Regions from separate parts of the Homo sapiens genome. Here region 2 is linked to region 1. Evidence: promoter capture Hi-C in human tissues and cell types (Jung and others, 2019). All regions are on one chromosome and are shown on one strand. The core of a region is centred on a gene start or on the middle of the fragment in contact, and the rest is flanking DNA. Distances in the headings are between cores, read along the strand shown.

What was found. The method cuts DNA at HindIII sites, captures the fragments that hold promoters and counts their contacts. A contact is called where the count stands out against the background at its distance.
Region 2: a contact is called between a fragment that was not itself captured here and the fragment with the promoter of KCNS2 in region 1, in 2 of the 25 tissues and cell types used here (IMR-90 fibroblasts and adrenal gland).

Annotation. Positions count from the first base shown.
Region 1 is chr8:98,423,902-98,431,229 of GRCh38, forward strand. It overlaps KCNS2 (potassium voltage-gated channel modifier subfamily S member 2), which reads left to right and starts at 3,057. Exons shown (of 2, transcript NM_020697.4): 1 at 3,057-3,428; 2 at 4,037-7,328. The coding sequence starts at 4,079. The coding sequence ends at 5,512. It also overlaps a transcript of STK3 not described here. RefSeq lists a silencer at 2,957-3,156. The HindIII fragment of the contact is 18,533 bases long and covers 1-5,634 here.
Region 2 is chr8:98,201,531-98,208,858 of GRCh38, forward strand. NIPAL2 (NIPA like domain containing 2) reads right to left here. Exons shown (of 11, transcript NM_001321635.2): 7 at 3,581-3,716; 8 at 1,578-1,666. All of the region lies in intron 2 of NIPAL2-AS1 (NIPAL2 antisense RNA 1), which reads left to right. Among named protein-coding and RNA genes, the nearest start is that of NIPAL2-AS1, 29 kb to the left of the region's middle. The HindIII fragment of the contact is 6,566 bases long and covers 1-6,028 here.

The DNA.
Region 1 (7,328 bases), core at 1,807-4,306:
CCCCCTTCCCAGGGTGCCTCTCCCTGCACACCTGTACCCCCTCACCATCTTCCCAGCAGGCCAGCCAGGCCAGCCCAGAGGCAGGCCTCAACCTGCGCCTGGAGCAGTGGCTGTATTTTAAGATCAGGGCTCAGACCTCTAAATAAACCATAAACAAAGCCAGCTTCCCCGGTATGGAAGGAGGGAGATGGCTCCATTTCTTTTCAGCACGATGACTGGGAAATAAACAAGTGGCTCTGCCTGTCACATACACTTAACCTCTGCAAAGGCATCTGTCAGACCCACAGAGCTTCTGTCTCAGCCTTTCCAATAAATAACTGATGTGCCCCACATTGGGCTTCTCCCTGCAGGCTCCAAGTTCACTCTGCCATTCAAGGAAAGGTGAGCAGGGGGGCTTGTCCCTGACCCCAAACTCACAGAAAGAGCTATCAAAGGGCAGGCTTAGACACAGGGCCCTAGTGTAGCTGGAAGCATGTTGGCACAGCTCTCTCAGCTGGGGAAGGGGACAAGGGGGAGGGAGAGAGGGAGGAAGGTAGGAGGTCGGGTTGTTGGCAAGAGCAGGGGCAGAGCTGAGAGGGGCAAGGAGTGGCCTCTGTTAGAGAGATGGGAGGGTGAGAGCCCCAGGGGCCCAGGCAGAGCCTGGTCTGCAGGTGGGGTGGCCGTGGGTGTGGAAGAAACAAAGAAAAACAGAAGGCAGAGGGCTCTCTCTCCATGGGTGAAATCTCCCACGACCACAGAGGATGAAGGAGAAAGAACAACAGACAGGAACAGAAGGAGGCGGGCAGATACATGAAGCAGGGGAGGGAGGAAAGCCCTGGAGGAATCAAACTCAAGTATGTGTAGAAGGAAGGACCCTCCAAATGCAGCAGAAAAAGGTGATTTATGCACTGAGCTAAACCAGAATAGCCAGGAGCCAAGGCCAAGGGAATGGGAGCGGCTGGGAATGGCGACATGTGGCAGAAGCCACAGAAGGGGGCTGTGAGCTCTGGAGGGGCCGGAAGGCAGGCAGCTCGTAGTGAAAGGATAGGGGTGAGAGCTAGGGAGAGCCACAGGGCCCATGAAGGCTGTCCCGTAGGTGCTGCTGCTCAGGCCCCTGCAGCAGAGACACCTTGCAGCCACCATCACCCCGCCGAAGGTGTGGAAGGGGGGATTGGAAAAGGGTGAAAGAGGCACTGACACAGGGATTATAAATGCACTGAAGCACACACCCCCTCAGCAAGGGTGGCACTCTCTCCACAGCACCCCCATGGGGATGAAGGAGATCCAGGGGCTCCCAGACTGCAGCCAGGTGTGTGGGAGCCACAGACCTCCAATGATGGACCCAGCAGACCTAGATAGAGGCTGCTGTCCACACACAGACCCTGAAAGAAAGGGAGATGAAGACAAGGATAACCAAGATCAGATTTTTCTCCGTCTCTCCCTCTCAGACACACACACACACACACACACACAAACACACTGGGAAATAAAGGGTGGCTTGTGTGTGTTTGAGGGTAGGGCAGAATGGAGGACTGGATTCCTCTTTTAGGGACCTGAAGAAAAGTTTCCCAAAGCCTGGGGAAAGGTCATACACAAGAAAGAGGAAGTGTGTGTGGCCCTCACTACCCTACTATCCCTCTCCCATGTGGCTGCCTCTGTGGAATCCACCACATTTGCAGAGGCCTGCAGGGGCATGGGTGTGAAGCCCTCTCAGCAGGAAACACACCTGCATTCACACCCACACACATGTCCAGAAGCCAGTGGGTCACAGGGATGGGTCAGACTTGGATGCAGGAGCCCCCATTCGAAGCCAGATTAACGGTCCTCTACAGGTCCTCCAAGGAGGCCCCAAGCCCTCCAGAGCTACACAGAGCACCTTTTCAGCTGGGACGGCATTGCCAGGATTGCGTAAAGAAAGAATGTACTTCCCACTGTGGCAGTGGTGGTTGCACCATGAATCCAGAGCCACCCTGCAAGGGCATTCCCAGGACTTCTGACCGAGACATGTAGACGCTAGCTCCCTGCTAAGCTCACACAACCACGGTGCTCCAGTCTTTGCAAGTGGACACCACAGAGAAACACCAAAGGGAGGGGGCTCCCCAGGGACTGGGTCCATTTCTCAGCTCAGCCCAGTAGGCAGGGCCTTAAGGACAATCCCAGCAGACCAAGAGCTCAGATCTGGGCCACGAGTCTTCTTAGGAATAGGGACACAGATCCTGAGCACATCTACCAGTCCCCACTCCAGCTTGAACCCCCCAGTCCCCACTGTCGGCAAGCACACCGCTCTCAACATATTCCACACACATGAGCCCGTCACAGTCCCAAGAGTACTACACTGTACACAGCACATGTACACACAGCACACGGTTCCCCATGCCACACACTGCGCTGACACACGTCCCAGGTCCCCCCTGTGCCGACGCATCTTCCCATCCGACAGAGGACCCATTTTAATGAACGCGGTACACACAGACACTGAAAAGTCCTGCTGTCCTCAGCCTACATACACACACAGCGCCCTGCAGTCCCGCACAGCCAGCACACCACACCGGCCTGGACACAAACTGTGCCCACACAGAGCTCCCGACCAGAACTCAGCGACTCCCGCCCCCGCCGTGCGGCCTGCGCTCCCGCCCCCCGCGTACTAAGCCGATCTCCACCTTGGACTTCCCGGCCCCCTCTTTTCCCCTCCAGCTCCTGTTCCCCAACAACCCCACCCCCGGGCTTCGGGAAACTTTTCTTCAGGTCCCTAAAAGGGGACACCTGGAGTTCCTCCGGTCCCGCCCTGTCCCCGGACACGCGCAAGCCGCCCTTTATTTCCCAGCCCAGCTCCCGCCAGACCCAGCGGGGAAAGGTCACCGTAGGCAGCCCCCTGCCTGCGCCCTGGGGGTGGTGATAATAACAGCTGTCACCGGGGGATGGTCGGGGGGAAGGGAGAGGTGTCGGCCCCGCGCCGAGCCGGGGGCGCAAGGTGGTCGCGGTGACGCGCCGGGGAAGCGCAGAGAAGCAGCGGCGGCGGCGGCTGCGCCTTCCGAGCCCGGGCGGCGGCCGAGGCACGCGGAGCTGTCCGTTCAGCACCACCGCGCCGCGCCCCGCGCAGGGCGGGCGCCCCGTCACACCCGCTCTGCTCCCGCCCCGGCTCACGGGGCGAATGCGGCGCGGGTTCCTGCCTCTCTGGGTGGGTGAGGGGCGCGCGGATCCGGAGAGGGGGCTCCGGGAGCGGCGGGACCACGCAGCCACCTGTGAGCCTTCGGCAGCTGCGGGCGGCGGCGGCGTACCCGGCCCGAGACGGGAGGAGACGCTCGGCGGCCCCCGCCCGCCGGCCCGCCGGGCGCACACACTCGCACCCGCGCACGCACCGCCAGCAGGCAGCGGCCACCGCCGCGATGCTCGCCCGCGGGTTGGGGAAGTTTCCCGCCGGCCTCGGCCGCGGGCACCCGTGCTCCCAGGTAAGCGCTTCCAGAACGCGCAGGGCGAGCCCGGGCAGCCCCGCTGGGTGAGGCGCAGCGCACGCGGCCCCGGGGCATAGCGCCAGGCCGGCAGGGAGACCTGGGCCGGGGACGCGGGGGCTGCAGGCGTGGGATCTGGACCCAGGGGAGGCCGGGCCGCCCCCCTCATTCCCGCGGCCCGGGTTTCCAGACTCCAGCGCATCCCCCCCACCCCACCAAAGCTACGCGCCCCCCGTGTCGGCCCGGCCCTGCCCGTGCGTATCTCAGCTCCGGTCCCGCCTGTCTGCGGCGAGCGGGCGGGGGCGTCTCCCGGGCCTGCCCATGGACAAGGTCAGCATGCAGCCCCCTGGGCGCTCAGAGCCGCGGGGACGCGACCCCGCACGCGCAAAGCGCCCACCGAGACCCCTGGGGTGGAGCTGTGCTAATAGAAACATACCCACCCCCAGCCTTTCCTGGGAGGGGATCAGACCCCTCAAACTCTTGCCCCAGCCCAGCCCTTCAGCACCCAAGACCCACCAGGAGGCCTGGGCCCGCCAGTAATGGGTAGGGAGAGGGGGCCCCGCCAGGGCGCACGGCGCTCTCGCCGACGCTGTTCCCTCCGCTTCCAGGTGTAGCGCCCCCGCGCGGCGCGGGCGGCCGGCGCCTCCAGCATGACCGGCCAGAGCCTGTGGGACGTGTCGGAGGCTAACGTCGAGGACGGGGAGATCCGCATCAATGTGGGCGGCTTCAAGAGGAGGCTGCGCTCGCACACGCTGCTGCGCTTCCCCGAGACGCGCCTGGGCCGCTTGCTGCTCTGCCACTCGCGCGAGGCCATTCTGGAGCTCTGCGATGACTACGACGACGTCCAGCGGGAGTTCTACTTCGACCGCAACCCTGAGCTCTTCCCCTACGTGCTGCATTTCTATCACACCGGCAAGCTTCACGTCATGGCTGAGCTATGTGTCTTCTCCTTCAGCCAGGAGATCGAGTACTGGGGCATCAACGAGTTCTTCATTGACTCCTGCTGCAGCTACAGCTACCATGGCCGCAAAGTAGAGCCCGAGCAGGAGAAGTGGGACGAGCAGAGTGACCAGGAGAGCACCACGTCTTCCTTCGATGAGATCCTTGCCTTCTACAACGACGCCTCCAAGTTCGATGGGCAGCCCCTCGGCAACTTCCGCAGGCAGCTGTGGCTGGCGCTGGACAACCCCGGCTACTCAGTGCTGAGCAGGGTCTTCAGCATCCTGTCCATCCTGGTGGTGATGGGGTCCATCATCACCATGTGCCTCAATAGCCTGCCCGATTTCCAAATCCCTGACAGCCAGGGCAACCCTGGCGAGGACCCTAGGTTCGAAATCGTGGAGCACTTTGGCATTGCCTGGTTCACATTTGAGCTGGTGGCCAGGTTTGCTGTGGCCCCTGACTTCCTCAAGTTCTTCAAGAATGCCCTAAACCTTATTGACCTCATGTCCATCGTCCCCTTTTACATCACTCTGGTGGTGAACCTGGTGGTGGAGAGCACACCTACTTTAGCCAACTTGGGCAGGGTGGCCCAGGTCCTGAGGCTGATGCGGATCTTCCGCATCTTAAAGCTGGCCAGGCACTCCACTGGCCTCCGCTCCCTGGGGGCCACTTTGAAATACAGCTACAAAGAAGTAGGGCTGCTCTTGCTCTACCTCTCCGTGGGGATTTCCATCTTCTCCGTGGTGGCCTACACCATTGAAAAGGAGGAGAACGAGGGCCTGGCCACCATCCCTGCCTGCTGGTGGTGGGCTACCGTCAGTATGACCACAGTGGGGTACGGGGATGTGGTCCCAGGGACCACGGCAGGAAAGCTGACTGCCTCTGCCTGCATCTTGGCAGGCATCCTCGTGGTGGTCCTGCCCATCACCTTGATCTTCAATAAGTTCTCCCACTTTTACCGGCGCCAAAAGCAACTTGAGAGTGCCATGCGCAGCTGTGACTTTGGAGATGGAATGAAGGAGGTCCCTTCGGTCAATTTAAGGGACTATTATGCCCATAAAGTTAAATCCCTTATGGCAAGCCTGACGAACATGAGCAGGAGCTCACCAAGTGAACTCAGTTTAAATGATTCCCTACGTTAGCCGGGAGGACTTGTCACCCTCCACCCCACATTGCTGAGCTGCCTCTTGTGCCTCTGGCACAGCCCAGGCACCTTATGGTTATGGTGTAAGGAGTATGCCCAGCCCCTGAGGGGAGAGATGCATGGGATATGCACCCAGGTTTCTTTTACAGTTTTTAGAATCGTTTTTAGAGGGTGGTGTGTCTGACACCATGCCTTTGCACCTTTCCATGAAATGACACTCACTGGTCTTTGCATCGTGGGCATAAAATGTTCACCTTTTTGCCAGATGAGTACACCCAGAATGCTAATTTTTCTGTCCATCGTGTACGCTATTCTAGTGCTTGTGGCCCAGTACTGTCTATGAGTTGTCGTGCTCCTGTTTCTGAGGTTGTCGTGTGAGTTCTGTACAAAAAGCCCCCACAAGTCGTCCAGTAGAAATGCATCTATGAGGTCAGCAAGGATATGATGAGATTTTGCTCACAGTCATGTGAAAACAAAATCTCAGCTCTTTATCCATTGCTTTCACTTAGTTTTAGTACCAAAACAAAGAGAATGCAAAGTTAAGCAGACTTGACCAATGCAAGTCTCTAAGTTGTTTTTATAAATGATCTGTAGTTCCGTGGCTTGCATGGGTGCACCAATCATCTTTAGAACGATGTACACTGATGTTCATCTCATAAATGTCACTCTTTAGAGAATGTTACTTAGTTAAACATGCAGTGAAGATCGAATTTTTTTCCCAAGAACAGATGTGTTAGGGAGAGGGGCTTCAGCTAAATAGTCCAAACCCTAGGGTGCTTAAAGCCAAGTTAGTGCAGGCTGAGCCCCTTGGTTCACAGTCAAGCCTCCTTGTTTCCTAGGGTGACTGTAGAGAAATGTATTTCCGGATGAGGTTTCTGATCTAGGCCATTTGACCAAACTTTGCTGTGTCTAAGATATTAGCATGTTTTTGAAATATTTATTTTTTAAGATGTTTAGGAGTAAGGTCGTGTTGTCTTCCTCAACTAAAAAGAAGTTTACTGTTGTATCGTCTCCCTGAGGTGAACGTTGTTGGGTTGCTAGCAAGGGCAGTAGCTTAAATACTTTTGTTGCCTACTCTGAAAGCTCATCAAATGAGAGCCCTTTTATTTCCAAGCAGAATTTAGTCAGATAATTTTGCTTCTAGGATATAGTATGTTGTATATGATGCTGTGATTGCCCTGGAGTTCCTGCCATGACATGGAAACCTGGTGGTATGGAAGCATGTACTCAAAATATAGACGTGCACGATGGTGGTGTGGCTTACCCAGGATGGAAACACTGCAGTTCTTACTTGCATTCCCACTGCCTTTCATGGGGGGTGACTGGGTAGAGGCCAGGAGAAAGGAAAGAGTTGTAAAATAAAAAACTGCTAGTTCATAAAATGTCATAAAAAATTGTAAACTTGAAAAGCTTAATGCTATTCAAAAGACCTTCAAGCTTCCAAACTTGTATTGAAGGGAGACGACTGTTTCCTCCTCCAAAATGCTCCTGCTCCTCTTGTTCGGTTAACCAGCACATAACATTGTGATGGGGAACCTGGGTTCCTCTATAAGATAATTCTTCTCCATCATCTTTAAGGTAATCTGATGGTTTTCCAGGTGGCTTTCATTATTGTTCCATCTTTGAAAAGGCAATAGAACCCAGGGGTCTGAGCATGGAGCTATCCAGGGTTTTCATCCAAAGGTTGGGCCTCTTCTTAAGAGGTCCTTTTGTGTTTCAGTTGATTGAAGATGATACTTACCTCATTGGAGGTGTGGCAAGGATCTTATCAGAAGGCTTTGTGTTCTTGTAGTTGTCATGGCTACTACAGTGTG
Region 2 (7,328 bases), core at 1,496-3,995, 220 kb before region 1:
CGTGCCACCATACCTGGCTGATTTTCCCCCTAATTTGTTAGAGATGACATCTTGCTATGTTCCCAGGCTGCAGAAAATCTTCCGATCAGGGCAACTATATTCTTTATGCACATTAATATTAACTATCAGGCTTATGTCATTTCTATGTCTCTTTTTGGCCTATTTTCCTTTTCCAATAATTCTAAGACACATCAATATGCAATCTTTTCTTAATTTATTAACTAGCTTAAAATACTAAAAAATTAGATGTCATGGGATAGAATATTTTCTTTAAATATTAAGTTTCAATTTTGGGAAACAGAAAATGCATTAATTACTTTAAAGAACTACCCACTGACAGTCACATTGTTTTCCATAAAATGAAAAAAAAATGTGCCAGTTAGGAAACAGACAATCCTCAGTTACTCCTCCAAATACATAAACTTTACATTGAGAAATGAACTCTCAAGATCAAGAAGGTGGTAAATACATCAGATAAGCCAATGAATGAGGGCATACCAGTACCAAATATAGAAATGGTATACTCAAATCAACTGTTTTTGGTTTGGACCGAGTTTCAAATTTATACTTTTAGTTTTAATGCTATCATGCCTGTCATATTTTAAAAAATGGTCCATACTAATAAAAGAACTGCAATAGTAGAAAAATAGAGGCCAGAATAGCAAAGGCAGTAGTTTCTATTCTTGTCTCTCAGGCTTGCCCTGGAACATTGAATTCAGTTTTGGATTGTACTGTCTGATCGAGCTGGTGAGGGGCATATAGGGAAGAGTTAGTAGAATTGGGCATGTATGGCCCAGAGACAAGACTCAAGAGGACCTTTCAGTTGCTTTGATGATCAGAAGGGCTGATATAGCTTGGATATCTGTCCCCTCCAAATCATATGTTGAAATGTGATCCCCAAATGCTGGAGGTGGGGCCTAGAGGAAGGTGTGTGGGTCCTGAGGGTGGATCCTTCACGAATGGTTTGGTGTCCTCTGTCAGTACTGAGTTCATATGAGATCTGGTTGTTAAAGAGACTGGGACCTACCCCTCTCCCTCGCCCCATCTCTTGCTATGTGACGTGTCTGTTCTCCCTTTGCCTTCTACCATGAGTAAAAGCTTCCTGAGGTCCTGACAAGAAGCAGATGCTGGCACCATGCTTCTGTACAGCCTGCAGAACCATGAGGCAAATAAACCTCTTTTAAAAATAAATTACTCCGTCTCAGGTATTCCTTTATAGCAACACAAAATGGACTAATCCAAGGGCTGGCAAGGGAAAGACTCCAACAAGAACAAAGATGAGTGTCTTAAATTTGCAAGGAAACTCATTTCAGCTCCAATATAAGAAAACACTTTCTACTTAGAAATCTCCAGAGAATGAGAGTGATCCAAAGCAGGACTGAGCTGACCCAGGAGGCAGAGAGCATTCACACAAAGTAGAGGAACCTCTCCTGGAAGATTGTCATAGGGGAAATTCAGACACCAGGTGGAGGCAACACAGATCCTTACAACCTAAAGATTTCTGGATTCTCTCATTTACTCTGGGAGAAACTTCATTTATGCTTGGAATCACCAATGTATAGAAAACCAAAACTCACCTGCAATGATGGCACTGATTGTAAAGAAAATATGATTAACTGGCACCACTGTTGTCGTATTGTAGAGTTTCGTGGCTTGATTCAGGAACCTAGGGCAGAAGGCACTTACTGGAGCTTTGGCTTTAGGAGACATTCAGCAATAAGTTAACAATAACTTCAAGAAACACGTGTTCTTTAGCTACAACTACAAAGGGAAAGGAGGTGCAGTGAAAGGGCATTTCCAATCAGCAGTCATAGCTTATATGCATCTGATGTATGAGATCAGATGTCAGGTTCTATGGTCTGTTTAAACCAACAACAGTAACAATGAAAAGCAATTAATCATATTCCGAGGCCACAGAAGTTTGAGTTGGAAGCGATTCAAGCTGCTGGACCAGTATCACACTGGGCCTGATTCATTAGGATAGACCCCAGAATCTGTTAAATATCATATCTGGGGAATAGTAGAGCTATCCATTGACATGCCACGTGCCAAGAAAGAAGATGGAGAAGTAAAGGAATGTTTAATGTTTCAAAAACAATGCTCAGTGCTCCAGCTGCAGAGCACATGTGGGAGCTCAGCTTCTCATTCTGGCCACCAACACAAATGCAGTTCCCACAACTGTGCTGTGCTGCCCTGCTAGGGACTAGATTGTTTTTTGAAGCAGTGAATTGCACTATCACCAGGGTGCTTTTAAAAAGCACTAATGCTTAGGTCCTACTCTAGAGAAATTGAAAAAAGTACTTTGTGGGTAGAGCCTGTGTGTGTGTGTGTGTGTGTGTGTGTGTGTGTACATACACATATGTAGGTATACGTAAATGCATGTATGTGCATGTATGCCTGCAAGTACATATACGTACAAAAGCCAGGTCATATACATGCATGTACATATGTATGTACAAAAACCAGGTCATTTTAATGGGCAACCAGGGCTGAGAACCACAGTCGTACAGTGTGATGGGTGCAGGAGACTGAGACAAGGGTGACAGGATGCAGTTTACCCCCAATTGTGTCTGCCTGTCAAATTTACAAAGTATGGTATGAAGATAATGCCACTAATCCCAAAAGATACTGTGGCAGTACCAATTAATTCAGAAGAAACAGATAAATGAAATAGCAAATGCAAGTATTAGAAACACAGGCTTATAAGGAGATGACAAACCAGTGACAAAACATTGGGTTTTTCCAGTAATTCTCCATAGACCTTGTAACAGGGCCTATCTTCAGCCCATAACAATTAGACGGTATTTCTCACACCTACAGAAGGAACCACTCTTGTACTGATTTTGAGCTCTGATTTCTTATCTGGGATGGTGCTTTTGCATAGCATTTTGGGGTGAACAGAAAACTTTCAGGTCAACTCAAGAAAGCCCAGCAGGCAAAGGCACAATCCCAATGTGAGAGATAGAGGGGAAGTGATTAGAGTTGATGGAGTGGGGGCAGGGAAGAGCAGAAATTAAAAACGTTCCATGTCACCACTATTAGGCCTCAAGAGAAACATAAAACAATCATTCCGCAATCCCATGGATACAAAGGAAATTCTGGCCAAAGATGCAAAATTTTGGGGAAAGGATTTCCCTCCCGGCCAAATGTCTGGTTTCGTCCTTCTCTGGGCAATTAGTGAGCATGAGCTAAGAAATGAAGGTGAAGGGTTCATGTGTGTCCTATATTTAGAATGAAAGCCTGGATGTGGACCTGCCCCTTTGATTTATTGCTAATGACAACCTGTGTACCACAGATATTAATTACAAGCAGAAGAGCATCAGGAAAGTATCAAAGTGCACTTAGCTGGATTAAGGCTGCGCTTTAGAACTCACAAGACATGAAGGCAACGCTTCATAAAAACTCATTATTGGATGCAAAGGAGGAAGCAAGGCATGTTGGCTGAGGACAAGCTACAGGCCCTTCACCCTTAGAAATCAGTTGTATCTCATTTTAATTATCATCTGAAGCCAGTAAAGATTAATGCCCAGAGAAGCACCGGAATGTTGAAAGATTAGTGAGTATGCAGAAGCTAACTTACTTGACTTGGAAAACACAAGATGCTATCATGATGATAAACATGATATAGAAAATGGGGTAAGTTAGTTGCATTTTATCCATCACAGAAAAAGTGATCATGCCTGAGACGGCCTTTACTGAAATAACAGTCAATGAGGCTGAAAAAGAAAACAAAAAACACAAATAAAGAACATATTTCAGATTGAATTAACAAATATCTTAAGCTTATGTAGTAGAGTAGCAAATATACCAATTATGGTTTAAGAATGAACACAGTTGTGAGAGGTGTAGGAAGGGATGTGACATTAGTAAGCAGTGGCCTTGTTGCTCGAGCCGTGCTGGATATCAAATTTGCTTAAATCAGCTAAAGATCTGCTGTGTGACTGTGTGTTTTTTTTTTTTATCTGTGGAGCAAGATGCTTCTTTTCCATCCCTAACTGTTGAAAGAATGCTGTGGAGGTTATAATTACTAGTAGATGGGAAAGGCAAAAACAATGGAGGGAGGAGATAAGAAAAGTCAGATTGTCCATGTGACATTAATGAGAAAATAACTATTAAACTATACTGAAAATTTAAAAACCAAGTAGATGAGAAGACTGGAAAGTGAAATGCAACTCACTTCTTGAGTTTACTTAGAGTTGTACTAAGTCATTGCTTCTCAGCCTTTTGGCTAAAATCAAGTGAGTTGTACTAAGTCTATATGTGAGCCCTTTTGTTAGGAGACACCTAGAAGTTTCATTAAGAATATTTTTGACAATGACAATAATTGGAAGCAGGAGCAGAGTTGAGTATTCATTTCTCAGGGTGGACCATCAATTTAAGGTTTACATAAGCAATAGCTATTTATGTTCTATGCTAAAGTGGAACTCATCCCTTATGAGAACAAACTTTTCGTAGGTTCCAAACAGCAATTAAGAAAAAGTAACTTGATAAGGTTATATCACTATGAAAGTAATGGAGCATTTTCTGGCAACATCATCTTTCTGTAAGGAAGAAAAGAATGCTTTCTGTCTTATGTCCCTCGAAGTTACTGTTGCAAATAATTCCATAATTTAGCTAAAACTCACTGAAAGTTCAAAAATAATTTTTACATGAAATAAAAAAACTATAAGTCAAAGGCAATGCGAAGGAGAAATACTCCTTTTGTTGCTGTTGATCTACTTGGTCATAATATATCTGAGTTTCCTTCATTTTATTTGAAAAGGTATTTTATGTATGTGTGTGTGTGTATATATATATATGTATGTATGTATGTATGTATTTGAAATATATATATATTTAAAACAGCAAGTGGTGGCCAGCCAAGAAAAGCCTCCCATAATATCGTTTTCCAAAAACTGAAAATATACTTTAACTTGAAGGGTACTAGGGCACACTTCCAAATTAGGCATTTTCTTTTAGTTAAAAATCATAATTGGCCGGGCGCGGTGGCTCACACCTGTAATCCCAGCACTTTGGGAGGCCAAGGCGGGCGGATCATGAGGTCAGGAGATCGAGACCATCCCCTGGCTAGCACAGTGAAACCCTGTCTCTACTAAAAATACAAAAAATTAGCTGGGCATGGTGGTGGATGCCTGTATTCCCAGCTACTCGGGAGGCTGAGGCAGGAGAATGGCGTGAACCCAGGAGGCGGAGTTCGCAGAGGGCCACTGCACTCCAGCCTGGGTGACAGACCGAGACTCTGTCTCAAAAAAAAAAAAAAAAGGAAAAAAAAATCATAATTGACAGAGGAGATCAGGTGATAAATTCTAAAAACAAACCCCACTTCTCAACAAAGAGGCCCTTACAATCAGGCCTTTCTCCATCTTAAGATGTCTTTTGACCTGATTCTTTTACATATTTCCTACTGATTATGCTAGTAGCCACATCTTAGCTAAACTAGGCATTTTAAATATCTATAGAGATCTGTGTGTCACTTGATGGTTTAAGTTTGTAGGTTAGCTCTTGAGGGACCTTGATTTCCTTCTAAACACTGCCTGAAATTAGAACACAGTGTGATTATGATCTTGTGGTCTGAACAGCCAGGTTTCCCAACGGGACAATTAATGGAGAAGGAGTTGAACGTACTGTTCCATTAGCCTCAGAACCTCAGAATTGCAAAGGACCTTAAAGGTCATCTGATTTAACCACTATCTGATTTTATATTATACTTAAACACAAGACAAAGACAAAACTAGAATTCTCTGTTATTGATAGCTAAACAAACTATCAATTTCTGTAGCCAATCGTTACATTTTCAAAGCATGCACAATTGTCAACTGATTAATCACTATTTTAACCTGTAAATTATTTCTAGGCTGGTGTTGAGTACTTCTAAGTATTTTTGGGGGGTGGTTGATGAGGATAGGTGGAAATACATAATTGTAATGCAGTGTTCTTCTAACATTATACTTAAAAATAGAAGGTACTTAGGTAAGCACAGAAAAAAAGATGAGAATAAACTACATCAAGATATTGTCAGTGGTTATCTCTAGCACTGGGATAATGAATTAACTTGAAATTCATTAAAAAAATCTACAAAAGTAAACATATTCATTTAAAAATTTTTGGAAAATGTGGGAAAGCCTGGAAAGGAAAATTAAAATTGCCTGTAGTTTCAGCACTCACCTCAAATCATTTTTGACATTTGGACATGTTGTTATTTTCCTATCTATAAGTATGAATAGGTTACAACATGTGAATCATAAGGTATATGCTACTTAGGAGCTCATTTTCCAAGTATATACCACTTAGGAACCTATTTACCTAAAGTATTTTCTATTTCATTAAGTATTCTTCTAAACCATGAATTTGTATGAATTTATTTTGGCAATTCCCTATTTTTGGATATTTAGGTTGTATCCATTTTTTTTTTAACTATTAAAAGCGGGGCTGTGATGAATATTCTTGAACGTAAGTCTTTGTTTATCACTCTGCCTATTTCCTTAGGAAAACCACCAAAGGGGAATTCCTGACTACAGCCACTGTGAAGGCTTGTGAAATATACTAGCAAACTGCCTTCCAGAGAGTACCAGTCACACTCTGTTGTACAGTGCTCAATTGCACAGATTTTTGTATTTTTCTTTGTATCTTTCTCTATTTTCGTAATTGTCAATAATTACCATGTATACTTTCATCATTAGAACAACACCATTTTTTCTAAACATGTGCTGACCTGTTTTTGAAATTTGGCCCTCTCAATTCCCTCTTAGATTTTCATCAATATACCTCCTTTCAAAAATTTTTCTAGGTTGCCATCAACATTTCCTTATGAGAGCCATAAACATTTTATTTACTAATTTGTCTCTGATAACCAAAGCATTCCATGGATAGAGAAGGACTTCCTGGCCTTCCTGGTTTCCTGATCAACCCAGAGGCGTTAGAGTACTTTTTTTTTTGATGTGGAGTTTTGCTCTTGTGGCCCAGGCTGGAGTGCAATGGTGCGATCTTGGCTCACTGCAATCTCCACCTCGTGGGTTCAAATAATTGTCCTGCCTCAGCCTCCTGAGTAGCTGAGATTACAGGCACCCACAACCACACCTGGCTAATTTTTGTATTTTTAGTAGAGCTGGGGTTTCACCATGTTGGCCAGGCTGGTCTCAAACTCCTGACCTTAGGTGATCCACCTGCCATGGCCTCCCAAAGTGCTGGGATTACAGGTGTGAGCCATCACACCAGGCCTGGAGTCCTTTAAGAATGATCACCACTACTGGCAAAGTGGGCCACTCGCCAGAAGCCAGGTTTCTTTCTTCTGACTACCCTCACTTGCTATTTTCTTTTTTTTAATTCCA